Linked DNA regions of Homo sapiens: all the other regions are linked to region 1. The links are contacts of gene promoters, found by promoter capture Hi-C in human tissues and cell types (Jung and others, 2019). All regions are on one chromosome and are shown on one strand. The core of a region is centred on a gene start or on the middle of the fragment in contact, and the rest is flanking DNA. Distances in the headings are between cores, read along the strand shown.

Region 1 (2,733 bases), core at 118-2,617:
TGCAGCCTGCTGCTGGCTTTTCAGTCAGAGGGTTGGGGGCTGGCCAGCCAAGCTGCCTTGCCCTGGCCGCTCTTACTCCCTCCCTCTGCTGTCTCACTTCAGGTCCATGTATTTCACTTTTCTTAAATAAAAGAATCAGGTAACCTTTCTGTGACTTGAGTCCTGATTGAAGAGGGTATGAAGCAGGGCTTGTGTTGGGGCCCTTCACAGAAGGTGAGGGGCAGTGATGGATGGAGCAGCAGGAGGAGTGTTGATTCTTGGATCTCTCCTCTCTTCCTCCCGTTGTTTGTATCATCTCCAGCAGGGCCTGTAGGAAGGCATCTGGGGGATGGGGAAGAAGGAGGCTCACAACCCAAGGAGAAGGTGCTGTGGACTGGGTTGTCAGGGACATGTGGTGGCCATGTGGCAGGACCCTGGAGTCCTGGCGCCACTTCTCCTGGCTGTGAGGCCCTCTGTGGCTGCCATTCCTCCTCCCAGCTGCTTGGGGGAAGGGAGGTCTAAACAGGCCTGGGGGGCCCTCCGGAACCAGAGGGGAGACAAGGCACTATCCATCCCCTCTCAGCATATCTTGGAGGCCTGAGCAGCAGCTGGGGCCCATCTTCTAAAGCTTGACTCCTCCTGACCCGCCTCCTACACCCCTTGCTGCTTTCACAACAAAGAAAGAATGTGGGGGTGGTGGCGCTGGGGGTGGGGGTGCCTGGAACAAGGGTTGTGCTGGGCCTCCCCACAGCTGGAGACTTGGCCATACCCTGACACAGCCCAGACTGCCTGGAGATGGACTTGGGATGAATTTGTCAGTTAGCAGACTTCAGCCTGGCTTTCAGAGCCCAGCGTGTTTCTACCTTTGGGTTCAGATTGGTCTACAGCCAAACCAGACCCCAGTCATGCACACTTCAGCCCCTCTCCGGGCTACACAGCATCTTCAGGTTACTTGGGGACATTAAGGACACCCTGCTGTTCTGGGTCTGCCGTTAAGATTTTGGGTTGCTGAAGAGTTGGCGGGGCCCGCCTCTTCCCCTGCCCCCACCTGGAGAATTCTGGGGGAACTGTTGGCCAGAGCCTCCAGGTATGCCCAGAATGGACCATTCTCCCCAGGGTCCACGGAATCGCACAAGTCACTTAGGTTCTCCCGGATCCCTGCAGAGTCGGTGGTGGGTACAGCAAATACTCAGGTCCCCTGCACTTCCCTGAGCCTTGCTCTCTCTATTCTCCATCCCTCTCCAGACCCCTCCCCCTACTGAGCTCCTCCCCGCCTCGGCGAGGAGGGGGCGTCGAGGGGGCGGGGCGCCGTGCGGGGGCCGGAGGGGAGGGGGCGTCGTGGGGCGGGGCTTGGCGGCGGCGGCGGCGGCGCGCGGGGACTCGGAGGTACTGGGCGCGCGCGGCTCCGGCTCGGGACGCCTCGGGACGCCTCGGGGTCGGGCTCCGGCTGCGGCTGCTGCTGCGGCGCCCGCGCTCCGGTGCGCTCCGCCTCCTGTGCCCGCCGCGGAGCGCAGTCTGCGCGCCCGCCGTGCGCCCTCAGCTCCTTTTCCTGAGCCCGCCGCGATGGGAGCTGCGCGGGGATCCCCGGCCAGACCCCGCCGGTTGCCTCTGCTCAGCGTCCTGCTGCTGCCGCTGCTGGGCGGTGAGTACCCGAGAGTTGGGGGCACAGAGCTTGGGAAGCGCGGGAGTCCCGTGGGCAAAAGGCTGCGCCCGGGGCGGTGGGTTTGGGCGGCTGGAACGGCCCTGGAGTAGTGGAGAGGCTCGCTGGGGGTGCAGGCTTGCGGCGGAAGGGCGCAAGGAGCCCGGGTGTCGGGAGGCTGGCGAAGCCTCCAGGGACGCGGTCAGGGTACCCCTCCCACTCGCGCCGCGGGGACGCATTTCCAGCCTCCCTGAGTTTTTCTGGTCTGAGCCGAGAGTTTGCTCGAGAACTGCCGAGAGTTGCTGGCTCTCGGGCCCAGATGGGGAGTTTCTTGTCGGGGGAGAAAAGACCATCCGCACCCACCGTGGGGAGCGCGATGGAGAAAAAGGAATTCCCCACCCCACCCGGCAGGGTCGGCCCAGGTAAGAGTTGCTGGTTTGGGGCCCGATGCCGGACAGACCTGCGGCGCGCAAAGCGCGGAGCTTTGTTACCTACGCCGACCCGACGTTCCCGGCTTCCCTCCTCCGAGTTCCTGGGCAAAGCTGAGACCCCAGATGGCCCTGCGGGTGAGGGCGGAAGAAGGGAAGAGTTAGGGGCCGCCCCCATCCATGGCCTCTAGCTACTGGTCTGGAACCCTGCGCCCACTCCGTGCCAGGGCCGAATCCGGGGATCCGAGGGTCCCAGGCTGTCGCGGTGACTAATGTGTGAAGGCCGCTGCCAAAATCGGGCATGGCCTGGCTGCAAAGGTGCGGACGGGGTTTGTTCTGCTCCTTCCTGGATTTCCATCCTGACTGTCCTCACAGAGGAAAGGAAGTATTTCTAAGGGAAGAAAGGCAAAAAGAGCTCATTCTGGCTTTTCTTGGGGGGGGGCCTTAGCATTTTAACGAGGGTGTGGCCCTCATCACCAGGGCAGACAGCACCGCCCCCCCAACTCCCGCAGCTTTTATTTCCTGGCTTGGTCACACCTAAGAGTCATCACTGAGGTGTTGAAGTGCCTTACAGGAAAGCACCAAGCCACCCGCACATCCCAAATAGCCCGGACTGGAAATAAAGCCCCCGACCCTCCACAACACTCCTTGGTGGTCCTCGAAGCAGCTTTCTCTTGGGGAGCTCTG
Region 2 (2,733 bases), core at 71-2,570, 440 kb before region 1:
AACTGCTGACCTCAAGTGATCCGCCCACCTCGGCCTCCCAATGTGCTGGGATTACAGGCATGAGCCACTGCGCCAGCCACTTTTATATTTCTTTGGTTTCCACTAATGTTCTTTCTTTAGAGGTTACAAGTTTATTTTTTTAATATGCTTTCTTGGAAGTATAGTCAAGTTATTTGAGAAACTGTAGTGGTTTTTGATTTTGCTTTTTAATGTTTCCATGTTTCTTTTTCTCTCCTTCATGTGGTATTTATATAATACAGTGTAGACCTTTTTCCCCTGTTTAATTCTCTTTTTAGGAAACATCCCTATATACAAAACAGAATCTAGAAGTAGAAACGAACAGGTATATTTAACCAGTTATAACTGTAAGAAGATAGGTGACGTCTCTAAAAATCTGAGCAAGTACTATTATGATTTCTTTAGTAGCCACCTGGCTTTCTTAAGAAAAGGAATGACCAAAGTTGACTTACCATTTTTATTTTTATTTGTTTGAATTTATTTTTATTTATTTATTTATTTTGGAGGTGGAGGTTTGCTCTATCGCCCAGGCGGGAGTGCAGTGGCGCGATCTTGGCTCACTGCAACCTCTGCCTCCCAGGTTCAAGCAATTCTTCTGCCTCAGCCTCCCGAGTAGCTGGGATTACAGGTGCACGCCACCACACCTAGCTCATTTTTGTATTGTTAGTAGAGACAGGGTTTCGCCATGTTGGCCAGGCTGGTCTTGAATTCCTGACCTCAAGTGATCCACCCGCCTCGGCCTCCCAAAGTGCTGGGATTACAGGCGTGGGCCACCATGTCTGGCCTGACTTACCATTCTAGTTCCTAGGTTGGGTGGTAGTTCATGGGTGTTTATTATAATACTACTATGTTTTTCATGTATCTGTGAAAACAATAGCTACTTTGGTCATTTTTGATACTTGAAGTATTCTGTATTCTCTATTGTTTAATAAGTTCTGACATACTAGAATAGTTAGGCTAGTTTCTGAACAGTAATTTTAATTAAAAGCTATTTATTGTTTTGCCTTCTTTCAGGCTCTGTGAAAACTTCTAATTGCATATTAGGACATAATATTAAAACTTTATTATAAAATACAGTTATAAATTCAATAACATTTTAAAAGCTTGTCACATTTCTTTTAACAATTTTTTCTATAGACCATAGAGCTAAAAAGGAAGGATTATTGCAGTGAAATATTGAAGTATTTTATTGCCTAAAACAGATCTTAGATGATACCTCTGAAATAATGTGTTTATTGGGATTTCTAAATTTATATTTTAGAGAATGTTATATAAACACATAATTTTAAAAGCTATTATTTCTCATAGTACTTGAAGTTTCCTGTTAAAACTTATACCTTCTATGTTTTTATAATCAATATATATTTCTCCTACATTACTTCTTAGGTTTCCATATAAAAGAACAACTATTATTTTCATTCATATATAATTTTTTCACTTCCGTTAAGGGAATGGATCCAATTACACGTCAAGTAGGACAACATATTGAAATGGAACCAGAGTGGGAAGCAGCCTTCACACTACAAATGAAATTAACACATGTCATTTCAATGATGCAGGACTGGTGTGCTTCAGATGTGAGTTTCTTCTGGGTGCGGGGAATAGGAGGAAAGTGGAAGAGGGAGGAATAAGCAGAATCCTAAGTAAATTTCAAGGAGATCTGGAGAAAATAGTGGTGATACTTAGTTCATTAAACAGCGTATTTTCCTTCTCCACCTATAAACTCAGTAAAATTTTAAAATTCTACAGCCTGAGGAAAAACTTGAAAAATAGAGAAAGAAATAATCCAGATTGTCTCTTCCCTAATGTAACTATCTTTGTTTTTTTTCCATAATCCCTTCTAGACTTTGAGGATATAAAAATGGTAGTTTCTAAATTTATTCAAAAATAAAGTTTTATTATTGGTACATTTGTCCTGTGTCTTAAAATTATTTTGGCCTTCCTTTGGCGATAAAGTCTAGATGAGAGCCTGTATACATTATGAGGTTAGGGAGGTTTCTGTAAGGTCTGAACAATCTGTAAAAGTTAATGGAACAATGAGTAAATGATATTCCTGACTGAGAAGACAGCTGCATTATAGTCTGTGATGACAGGGACTAGGGTAGTCCTAGGAGCTATAGAAAGGTCTGTGGTTGGAGCACAGAAGTAGAGAACAGAGATTTGGGCACAGGAGTGATTTTTCGGGGCCTTGGCCATGGTTGTTTTTTTTTTTGTTTTTTTTTTTTTTGAGACACAGCTTACTCTGTTGCCCAGGCCAGAGTGCAGTGGTGCAATCCCGGCTCACTGCAGCCTCAACCTCCCTGGGCTTAGGTGATCCTCCCACCTCAGCCTCCCAAGTAGCTGGGACAACAGGCACACACCACCACACCTGGCTAATTTTTCTATTTTTTGTAGAGACAGGGCTTCGCCGTGTTACCCAGGCTGGTCTTGAATTCCTGGGCTCAAGCGATCTGCTTGCCTCGGCCTCCCAAAGTCTTGGAATTACCAGCGTGAGCCACCACACTCAGCCTGCATTTTATTTGAATTGAAGTGGGAAGCCTTTAGAGATTACCATCTCTCTATTAAATTCCCTGCTTCAACTCTTGCCCCCTTTATCCATTTTCCATACAGTGACATGATTCAATTTACATGTTTTTTAAAATTGCTCTGTATGGAGAATGGATGAAGGGGGCAAGAGTCAAAGCAGGAATTTAATAGAGAGACGCTTGGCAATGC
Region 3 (2,733 bases), core at 1-2,500, 370 kb after region 1:
AAAAAAAACAAAAATTAGCTGGGTGTCATGGCTCACACCTGTAGTCCTAGCTACTCTGGAGGCTGAGGCAGGAGAATTGCATGAACCCGAGAGGCGGAGGTTGCAGTGAGCTGAGATCATGCCACTGCACTCCAGCCTGGGCGACAGAGCAAGACTCTGTCTCACACACACAAAAAAGTAAAAACCTATAAAAGCTTTTACATCAAATCTGCCCAAGATACCTTACTACCTTGCCTGTTAAAAAGACAGGGTAATAGGCCAGGCACGGTGGCTCACGCCTATAATCCCAGCACTTTGGGAGGCCAAGGTGGGTGGATCACAAGGTCAGGAGATCGAGACCATCCTGGCTAACATGGTGAAACCCCGTCTCTACTAAAAATGCAAAAATTAGCTGGGCATGGTGGCACACGCCTGTAGTCCCAGCTACTCGAGAGGCTGAGGCAGGAAAATCGCTTGAACCCAGGAGGTGGAGGTTTCAGTGAGCTGAGATTGTGCCACTGCACTCCAGCCTGGCGACAGAGCGAGACTCCGTCTCAAAAAAAAAAAAGGGTAGTAAATGTAACAAAGTAGTTAAGAATCTGAATCTGAACTTGTGTCCTGCCCCTTACTAGCTGTGGGCCAGCTAGTTAATCTGTCTGAGCTTTGGTTGCACCTGAGAAAAGGAAATGATACCATCTTCATAAGATTACATTGGGGCTTGAATGAGAGAATGCCTGTAAAGTGCTAGGCACATAGTGTTCAATAAGTGCTTGATGTTATTGGAATTATGTCTTGTCTCCTCTGACTAGCTCACCCCAAATTTAAGTCTACTCTCCTCAAGCTCCCTACTTCTCTTGACTCCCACTATCTCCTGCAAAGGGATAGGAAGTGGGCCAGAAGGTAATGGGAGCTCCCTGACCCACTGGGGCACCTGTTCCATCAGATCCTGCCTGCTGGAGACCAGACAGAGGTGGGGGAGAAGGGTGTCACCCTTAGCGGAGGACAGCGTGCCCGGATTGCCCTTGCTCGTGCTGTCTACCAGGTCAGTTAAAGATGGAGGTTGCAGTGGCAGGGAGGTGGGGGGAGTCCAGAGCCTTGGGAACTTGGCTGAGTTAGGAGGATAGGAATATTTTCCTTAGCATCTGGTTCCTTCCCTCCTCCCTTGCATGTTCCTGAGGTATTGGCCATCTCATCCCCTTTTGCAGATTTAAGGCAGAGTTCAAGGCCTTTAAAAAGTATTTGTAGGCTGGGCATGGTGGCTTAGGTCTGTAATCCCAGCACTTTGGGAGGCCAAGGCAGGAGGATTGCTTGGGCCCAGGAGTTTAAGATCAGCCTGGGCAATGTGGCAAAACCCTGTCTCTACAAAAAATAATTTTAAAAAGTTAGTTGGTGTAATCCTAGCACTTTGAGAGGCCGAGGAGGGTGGATCACTTGAGGTCAGGAGTTCGAGACCAGCTGGGCCAACATGGTGAAACCCCATCGCTACTGAAAAACATACAAAAATTAGCTGGGCATAGTGGCACATGCCTGTAATTCCAGCTACTCGGGAGGCTGAGGCAGGAGAATCGCTTGAACCCGAGAGGCAGAGGTTGCAGTGAGCCAAGATCACACCATTGCACTCCAGCCTGGGTGATGAGAATGAAACCCTGTCTCCAAAAAAATTTAGCTGGGCTTGATAGCATGCACCTGTAGTCCCAGCTACTCAGGAGGCTGAGGTGGGAAGGATCACTTGAGCCTGGGAAATTGAGGCTGCAGTGAGTGGTGTTCATGCCACTGCACTCCAGCCTGGGCAACAGAGCAAGACCATGTCTCAAAAAAAAAAAAAAGTGTTATATGGGCTGAGGGCCTGGGACCTAGGAAAGCTGAGTGCTGGCCCTGGGGTGCTGTTCTTTCTTGCCTGAAGGGATGTCCACCCTCAGGTCTCACCTCCTTCTCTGCTAGTGTAGGGGTAGCCCCCAGAGTTTCTCTCAACTGTCTTCTCTGATCACTTTGAGATCTTCTCCGGAGAGCCTTTGGGTCCTGGTGCCCACGGTACCCTCACGTCTCCATAGGAAAAGGAGCTCTATCTCCTCGATGACCCTCTGGCCGCTGTGGATGCAGATGTGGCCAACCACCTGCTGCACAGGTGCATCCTGGGCATGCTGAGCTACACCACACGGCTGCTCTGCACCCACCGCACTGAGTACCTGGAGAGGGCTGACGCGGTGCTGCTGATGGAGGCCGGGCGCCTCATCCGGGCTGGTAATGGGGGCAGGAGCCCCGTGTGAGGGAGGTGTCTGCCCAGGTCTGGCAGGGGATTGTGAAGTACAGACTCTGCCCCCTGCTGCATGTGTGCCCTGAGCCAGTCATTGCTGCCTCCCGCCTTCACAGAACTGGTGTGAGGAACTGGGAGAACAGGAGGGAAAAGGAGTACGTTGGTAAAATGCCAGTGTATTTGGGACTCATGGGCTTTGTGACTGGGTGCTCTTGGGAACTTAAAGGCCCAGGGTCTCTGAGAACATTCTCATATCTTCAGAGAAGAGAAAGGAGTCAGGTTTAGAATGGTCTTTTTGTAAAAACAAAAATTTTTAAACTCTGAAAGATTTTTATGCAGAGGGATGTGACCACCTGCAAGTTTACTGGGAGAGAAATAGGAGGAAATGAAGCTCCAGCCAGATATTAGGAATTGAGCGAAGCATGAGAAAAAGCTCTGCAGTAATGAGAAGTAACCCTGGACAGAGTGGCAGGCATAGCTCTGGCGGTCCTCTTGGGGAT
Region 4 (2,733 bases), core at 62-2,561, 290 kb before region 1:
GCCATGAAAATCATTACTGGCTTAAAGTGAGTTAATGGGCGCAGAGTTTCAGTTTGGGAAGATGAAAAATTTCTAAAGCTGGATAGGGCTCTTGGTTTCACAGCAATGTGAATGTATGTAATGCCACTCAACCAAACACTTTTAAATATTTAAAATTCAGTAACTCTATAGAGAAATAAAGGGTTTTCCCAATCCTGGAAAAAAATGGTTAAAATTGTAAATCTTACATATATTTTACCATAGTAAAAAATGAATTAGGCTGGGCCCATGGCTCACACCTACAATCCCAGCACTTTGGGAGGCTGAGGCAGGCAAATCGTTTGAGGCCAGGAGTTCAAAACCAGCCTGGCCAACATGGCAAAACTCATCTCTACTAAAAATACAAAGAAAATAGCCAGGCATGGTGGCACACACCTGTAATCCCAGCTACTCAGGAGGCTGAGGCATGAGAATTGCTTGAACCTGGAAGGCAGACATTGGAGTGAGCTGAGATCTTCCCACTGCACTCCAGCCTGGGTGACATAGCTAGACTGTCTCAAAAAAAAAAAAAAAAAGAATGAACACTTAAATATTTGTGGCAGATAGAGGTGTTATTTGCATATGGAAGAAAATTGCTTTAGAAATGAAATTTCAGATTACTGAAACTAAAGAGAAAGTATCTCTTCTTATCATGGTACCAAGCTTGAGGGTGCATAAGTCACCTATAGACGTAGAGATTGTAGTATAGGACCTGGGAATATTACATTATTTGCTCCCATGTTTACTGTTTTGTTCTAAGCCTTTAGCACAGCATTCAAAACAAGTTGAGCACTCAGTAAACATTTGCTGACTCAGTACTTGGAGAACCTAGGTAGAGTAGAATGATGGGAATCAAAAGGAAAACAGTATTCTGTTAGAGATCAGCAATATCTTACACTAGTAGAGGGATCTGTGAGAAAAAGAATCAAGACCATTGAATGTGTGGCGGCTTATAGCATTTGACATTCTGATCTGTGCACGTGATGAGAAAAAAAGTCTGATTACAGAACAGGGAAGGAGAGAAATAAGCATTGAGTTTCATTTTTTGTTTGTTTTTGAGACAGGTTCTCACTGTTACCCAGCCTGGAGTGCAGTGGTACAATTGTAGCTCACTGCAGCCTGGACCTCCTGGGATCAAGGGATTCCCCCAACCTCAGCCTCCCAAGTAGCTGGGACTATAGAAATGCAACACCATGCCCAGATAATTTAATTTTTTTTTTTTTTTTTTTTTTTTTGTAGAGACAGGGGTTTCTCTTTGTCACCCAGGCTGGCCTCAAACTCCTGGGCTCAAGCAGTCTTCCCACCTTTCCCTCCCAAAGTGCTGGGATTACAGGCGTGAGCCACTGCATCCTGCCGAGAAAATCATTTTTTATTTAAATAATGTCAAATGGAAGTATGTAGCACCCCCCCCCCACCTTCTTTTCCCCTTTCTTTCCTCTTTGAGTCTGCTGTCATTCCCTTTTTCATGAGTTTTCTCTGCTCCCCAAATAGGCTAAACAATAACCGTAAAGTGAGATTAGAGAAAATAAGAATGGAGTAGATGATGGAATTCAAAATAGCTGTCTACATTCTTCACTGAGAAAGATAGCTTTGAGTTAAAGGTGAGAGGAGCAAATCTGGGGAAAAACGGGTGAAACGGCATGATTTAAGTAGCATACCAGATGCGTTTCTGCATGGCATGGCTCTTGCTTGATGAATAATGTTCTGTATAGTAGAAGAGGAAAATACAGTGAGTGAAGGAGCTGGCAGAAGGTGGGCTGGGGGAGTTGGGGAAGAGTGAAATGAGTATGGAGAGGTGAGAGAGCTGACTGCAAAGGCATGTGGGGTGTGGATTTTAAAAGGAAAGCCCTGAGGTGGAAATCACTAACATGGTGCCTGGCTACAAGCAGAGGGAGCTCAGGACTTGACTGTGCTGGGGGTGGCCTGCCCTTTTGTAGTGCAGTTGAGGAGAGCTCAGGGGCTGTCAGAATGCTGTGTGGGAAGGTGGAGGATGAAAGAGGACCTGGGAGCAGCAACTTTGTTCTGGTTTGTTGTTTTCTCTTCCCTACCTCGTATGTACTCCCACTCAGGAAAAGATCCTGAGACCTCTCTGTACCAGATCCTCTTATACCCAGGTTCTCCTTAATCCCAATCAACTTTAATCTATAAAGTTACGATTTGTTTACTTATAAATTTATTTTTAATAAAGTTGTGAAACCGAACATGTTCTGTTTTTGTGGGTTATTTGGCTCTCTTATCTTGCAAACACATTAAACACTTAACATTACTTAAAATTAAAGCCCTGAGTCTGAGAATGTGAGAGAATAAGATATGAAAGATATTGCCTTTCTAGAAATGGTTTATTTCAGTTGAACCCAAATCCAGGACACTTTTTTTCATTAGGAGTTGAACTTTGTGTCCTGGCCTGAAATGGAAACATTTTCACAGGGAAGAAAATGAGGGGGAAAAGAAATAATATTTGTTAAACCTTCACCTTGTTTGAGACCCTGATGGGTTCTAATGGGTTTGGTTTTTGTTTTTGTTTTTTGAGATGAGAACTCACTATGTTGCACAGGCGTGTCTCAAACTCCTGGGCTCAAGCGGTCTTCTCACCTCGGCCTCCCAAAGTGCTAGGACTATAGGTGTGAACCACTGCACCTGGCCTCTGATGGGTTTTTAGTAAATACAGTCATGTGTCATTTAATCACAGGGATAGGTTCTGATGAATGCATCGTT
Region 5 (2,733 bases), core at 145-2,644, 280 kb after region 1:
CCTCAGCCTCCCAAACTGCTGGGATTACAGGCGTGAGCCTCCACACGTGGCTCAGATAAATGGTTTTAAAGCTGTGTTCCAGAGGTTGTAAAGAGTGCTCAGGAGCTACCAAAAGAAAGGAGGTACTAGAAAAGCAGAACCAGCAGGGCTCTTGACCTTCTATCCCAGTTAAATCACACTAATTCCAACTTTAAGTCTGTATATTAAGGTTCTAATAATTCAATTGGGAAAAAAAAGTATCACTATATGGTAACTTTTAAAAAAACTACTGATTTATCTAATTAGCATGATTTTCTCATAAGATTTAGAAGGTTCTCCAATGCTTTGCCTTGATGGTTCACATATTAAAACCCATAAAGCTCTCTCACAGCCTGTTTTGTCACCCTCTTTGCCTTCTCTGGATATCTACAAGCACTCTGCTAATCTTGGGCTTAGAAAAGAGAAAGTGATGGTTTGGTTCACCATATATTTTTATTTCATTAAATACAAAGGTCTCAGACCTTTGTGGCATGAGGTAAAAATCCAGGATGGGACAGCTATTCTTTTAGCTGAGAATTCTATACCACACCCAATAATGCTAACCTTCTCAGGGGCTATGGCTATGACACAAAACTAAAGTTTCTGATTTAAATCACAGATAGAAATAAAGATCCTCTAGCACTTTATGTATGAAAACTTCTAAGTACTCTGAATAAAAAATAAAAGTTCTTACATGTCACTCACATTCCAGAGTGAATTATCATCTAGAGGATGGTAACTATTAGTGTCTTCTACAGTTTCTAGTAGCTACTTTTGTTGTGAGTTTCTAGAAATGACTTTTCCTTAGTTTTTTTAGTAGTTGCTTTCCTATCTCTGAGACTATGCCAGCAGAATCTCAAAACATTGCCTTTTCTTATTCACCAGCCTGCCTTTGATCAAAGTTGTAGACCTAGGAATAAATTTATGAAAGGTTATCAAGGACAAACTTTATTTACCTTCTCTAACAAGAATGCCACCTGTGGGAATCCAGGTTTCTGTTACCCACCTTCTTCCTAAGAATTTGGGAAATTTTGAGGTTTCAATGCAGTATGAAATAGGAATAAATGGGAATAAACCAAGGATGATTTCTGAAATCAAACTGAGGTAAAAATTTTTCTCTATAGGTCTGTCAGCCATAAACACACCTATTTCCAGAGAGGAATGTTCATGAGTTGAGTCACTCCATTGCCAAAACACCATCTACCATACAAAAAGTCTCTGACCATATTAGTATAGGGAGAAAAAACATAGGCTCCATGAGGAGTGGCAAGTTCATTCACACTCCCACATTCAGCTCCCCACCAGAACTATTACATGTCACCATGAAACGGCATACTAGCCCAAGGTCTAAACCAGTACTAACTATCAAGAAGCTACAAATGAGATGGCTCTCAAAAAGCTGTAGTCCAGACTTGGAATCTCCAGTAGAGACAGAAAAAAGGCATAAAAACAGTTTTCTTAAAAAAGCTATCACATACATATAGGCAGAAATCAGGTTGCTTATTAGAAGCTCATGTCCTCCTTCCCCAGGACTCCAAAAGGATATGAGAAGAGAACTGGCTGTAGTAAGAACCCTAAAAAGGGTACAATCTCCTATACCCTGAAAGAGTCCAGCGATGGATACTCCCGGAAAGCCTTGGTTAAGTTCAACTGTTTTCTAAAATAAAGTCTATCTATTTAAAAAAACTGATTGTTGGAGTTAGGTAATAAGGACATGGGGTTTCACTGTACTATTCTACATTTTTGTGTTTACAAATCTCTGTTAAACAAGTTTTTAAAAAATGTATGTATGTCCATATAAAAACTTTTATACCAATGTTCAGAGCAGCATTAATCATAATTGCCAAAAAGTGAAAAGAATCAAAATGTTATCCATTCATTCACCACTGATGAATGGATAAACAAAACATGGTATATCCATACAATAAAATATTATCAGCAATAAAAAGGAATGCTACAAACACGGATGAACCTTAAAAAAAAATATGCTAAGTGAAAGAAGCCAGTCACAAAAGACCACATATTATATGATTCTATTTATATGAAATGTCCAGAACGGGCAAATCTATAGAGACAGAAAGTAGATTAGTGATTGCCTATGGCTGGGGGTAGGGTGGAGGGAGTAATGGCTAAAGGAACAGAGCTTCTTTCTGGTGTAATAAAAATGTTCTAAAATTGATTGTAGTGAGGGATGCACAACTCTGAATATGCGAAAAATCACTGAACTGTACACTTCAAATGGGTGAATTATATAGTATACAAATTACATCTCGATAAAGCTGTTAAAAATGTATACATATTTTAAAAGGTCCTTCAGAGCCTAAACTCTCCATTCTTTTCTGTTGATGAGTCCCAAAAATGCCCCAAGAAAGCTGTTTGCTTCTATTCCCTAAAGAAAATCAGAGGGAAAAAAATCCCACTCCTTCAATCTGTCAGAATAAGGAGAAGAAATTAGGCGATAAGCTGGGCACAATGGCTCACACCTGTAATCTTAGCACTTGGAGAGGCCAGGGCAGAAGGATTGCTTGGGGTCAGGAGACTAGCCTGGACAACACAGATAGATAGAAACCCAATTTCTAAAAATTTATTTTTTAATTCACCAGGTGTGGCAGTGCAGCCCATAGTCCTAGCTACTCTTTAGACTGAGCTGGGAGGACCACTTGAGCCCAGGAGTTTGAGGTTACAGTGAACTATGATCACGCCACTGCACTCCAG

What was found. Contacts are between HindIII fragments. The study calls those that stand out against the background at their distance.
Region 2: a fragment that was not itself captured here is called in contact with the fragment with the promoter of PTK7 in region 1 in 2 of the 25 tissues and cell types used here (adrenal gland and aorta).
Region 3: a fragment that was not itself captured here is called in contact with the fragment with the promoter of PTK7 in region 1 in 2 of the 25 tissues and cell types used here (bladder and dorsolateral prefrontal cortex).
Region 4: a fragment that was not itself captured here is called in contact with the fragment with the promoter of PTK7 in region 1 in 1 of the 25 tissues and cell types used here (aorta).
Region 5: a contact is called between a fragment that was not itself captured here and the fragment with the promoter of PTK7 in region 1, in 1 of the 25 tissues and cell types used here (H1 embryonic stem cells).

Annotation. Positions count from the first base shown.
Region 1 is chr6:43,074,947-43,077,679 of GRCh38, forward strand. PTK7 (protein tyrosine kinase 7 (inactive)) reads left to right here and starts at 1,368. Exons shown (of 20, transcript NM_002821.5): 1 at 1,368-1,621. The coding sequence starts at 1,543. It overlaps KLC4 (kinesin light chain 4), which reads left to right. Exons shown (of 16, transcript NM_201521.3): 16 at 1-147. It overlaps KLC4-AS1 (KLC4 antisense RNA 1), which reads right to left and starts at 1,284. Exons shown (of 2, transcript XR_002956347.1): 1 at 749-1,284; 2 at 1-321. RefSeq lists an enhancer at 503-1,026 and a silencer at 1,356-1,455. The HindIII fragment of the contact is 20,814 bases long and covers 1-2,733 here.
Region 2 is chr6:42,633,952-42,636,684 of GRCh38, forward strand. It overlaps UBR2 (ubiquitin protein ligase E3 component n-recognin 2), which reads left to right. Exons shown (of 47, transcript NM_001363705.2): 14 at 1,467-1,595. Among named protein-coding and RNA genes, the nearest start is that of UBR2, 71 kb to the left of the region's middle. The HindIII fragment of the contact is 3,846 bases long and covers 1-2,733 here.
Region 3 is chr6:43,440,940-43,443,672 of GRCh38, forward strand. It overlaps ABCC10 (ATP binding cassette subfamily C member 10), which reads left to right. Exons shown (of 22, transcript NM_001198934.2): 9 at 923-1,021; 10 at 2,031-2,220. Among named protein-coding and RNA genes, the nearest start is that of MIR6780B, 7.8 kb to the left of the region's middle. The HindIII fragment of the contact is 4,033 bases long and covers 1-2,733 here.
Region 4 is chr6:42,789,103-42,791,835 of GRCh38, forward strand. All of the region lies in intron 1 of BICRAL (BICRA like chromatin remodeling complex associated protein), which reads left to right. It overlaps LOC401261 (a long non-coding RNA gene), which reads left to right. Exons shown (of 2, transcript NR_134654.1): 2 at 1,314-2,221. Among named protein-coding and RNA genes, the nearest start is that of BICRAL, 8.4 kb to the left of the region's middle. The HindIII fragment of the contact is 3,471 bases long and covers 1-2,733 here.
Region 5 is chr6:43,358,804-43,361,536 of GRCh38, forward strand. All of the region lies in intron 2 of ZNF318 (zinc finger protein 318), which reads right to left. Among named protein-coding and RNA genes, the nearest start is that of ZNF318, 9.5 kb to the right of the region's middle. The HindIII fragment of the contact is 8,687 bases long and covers 1-2,733 here.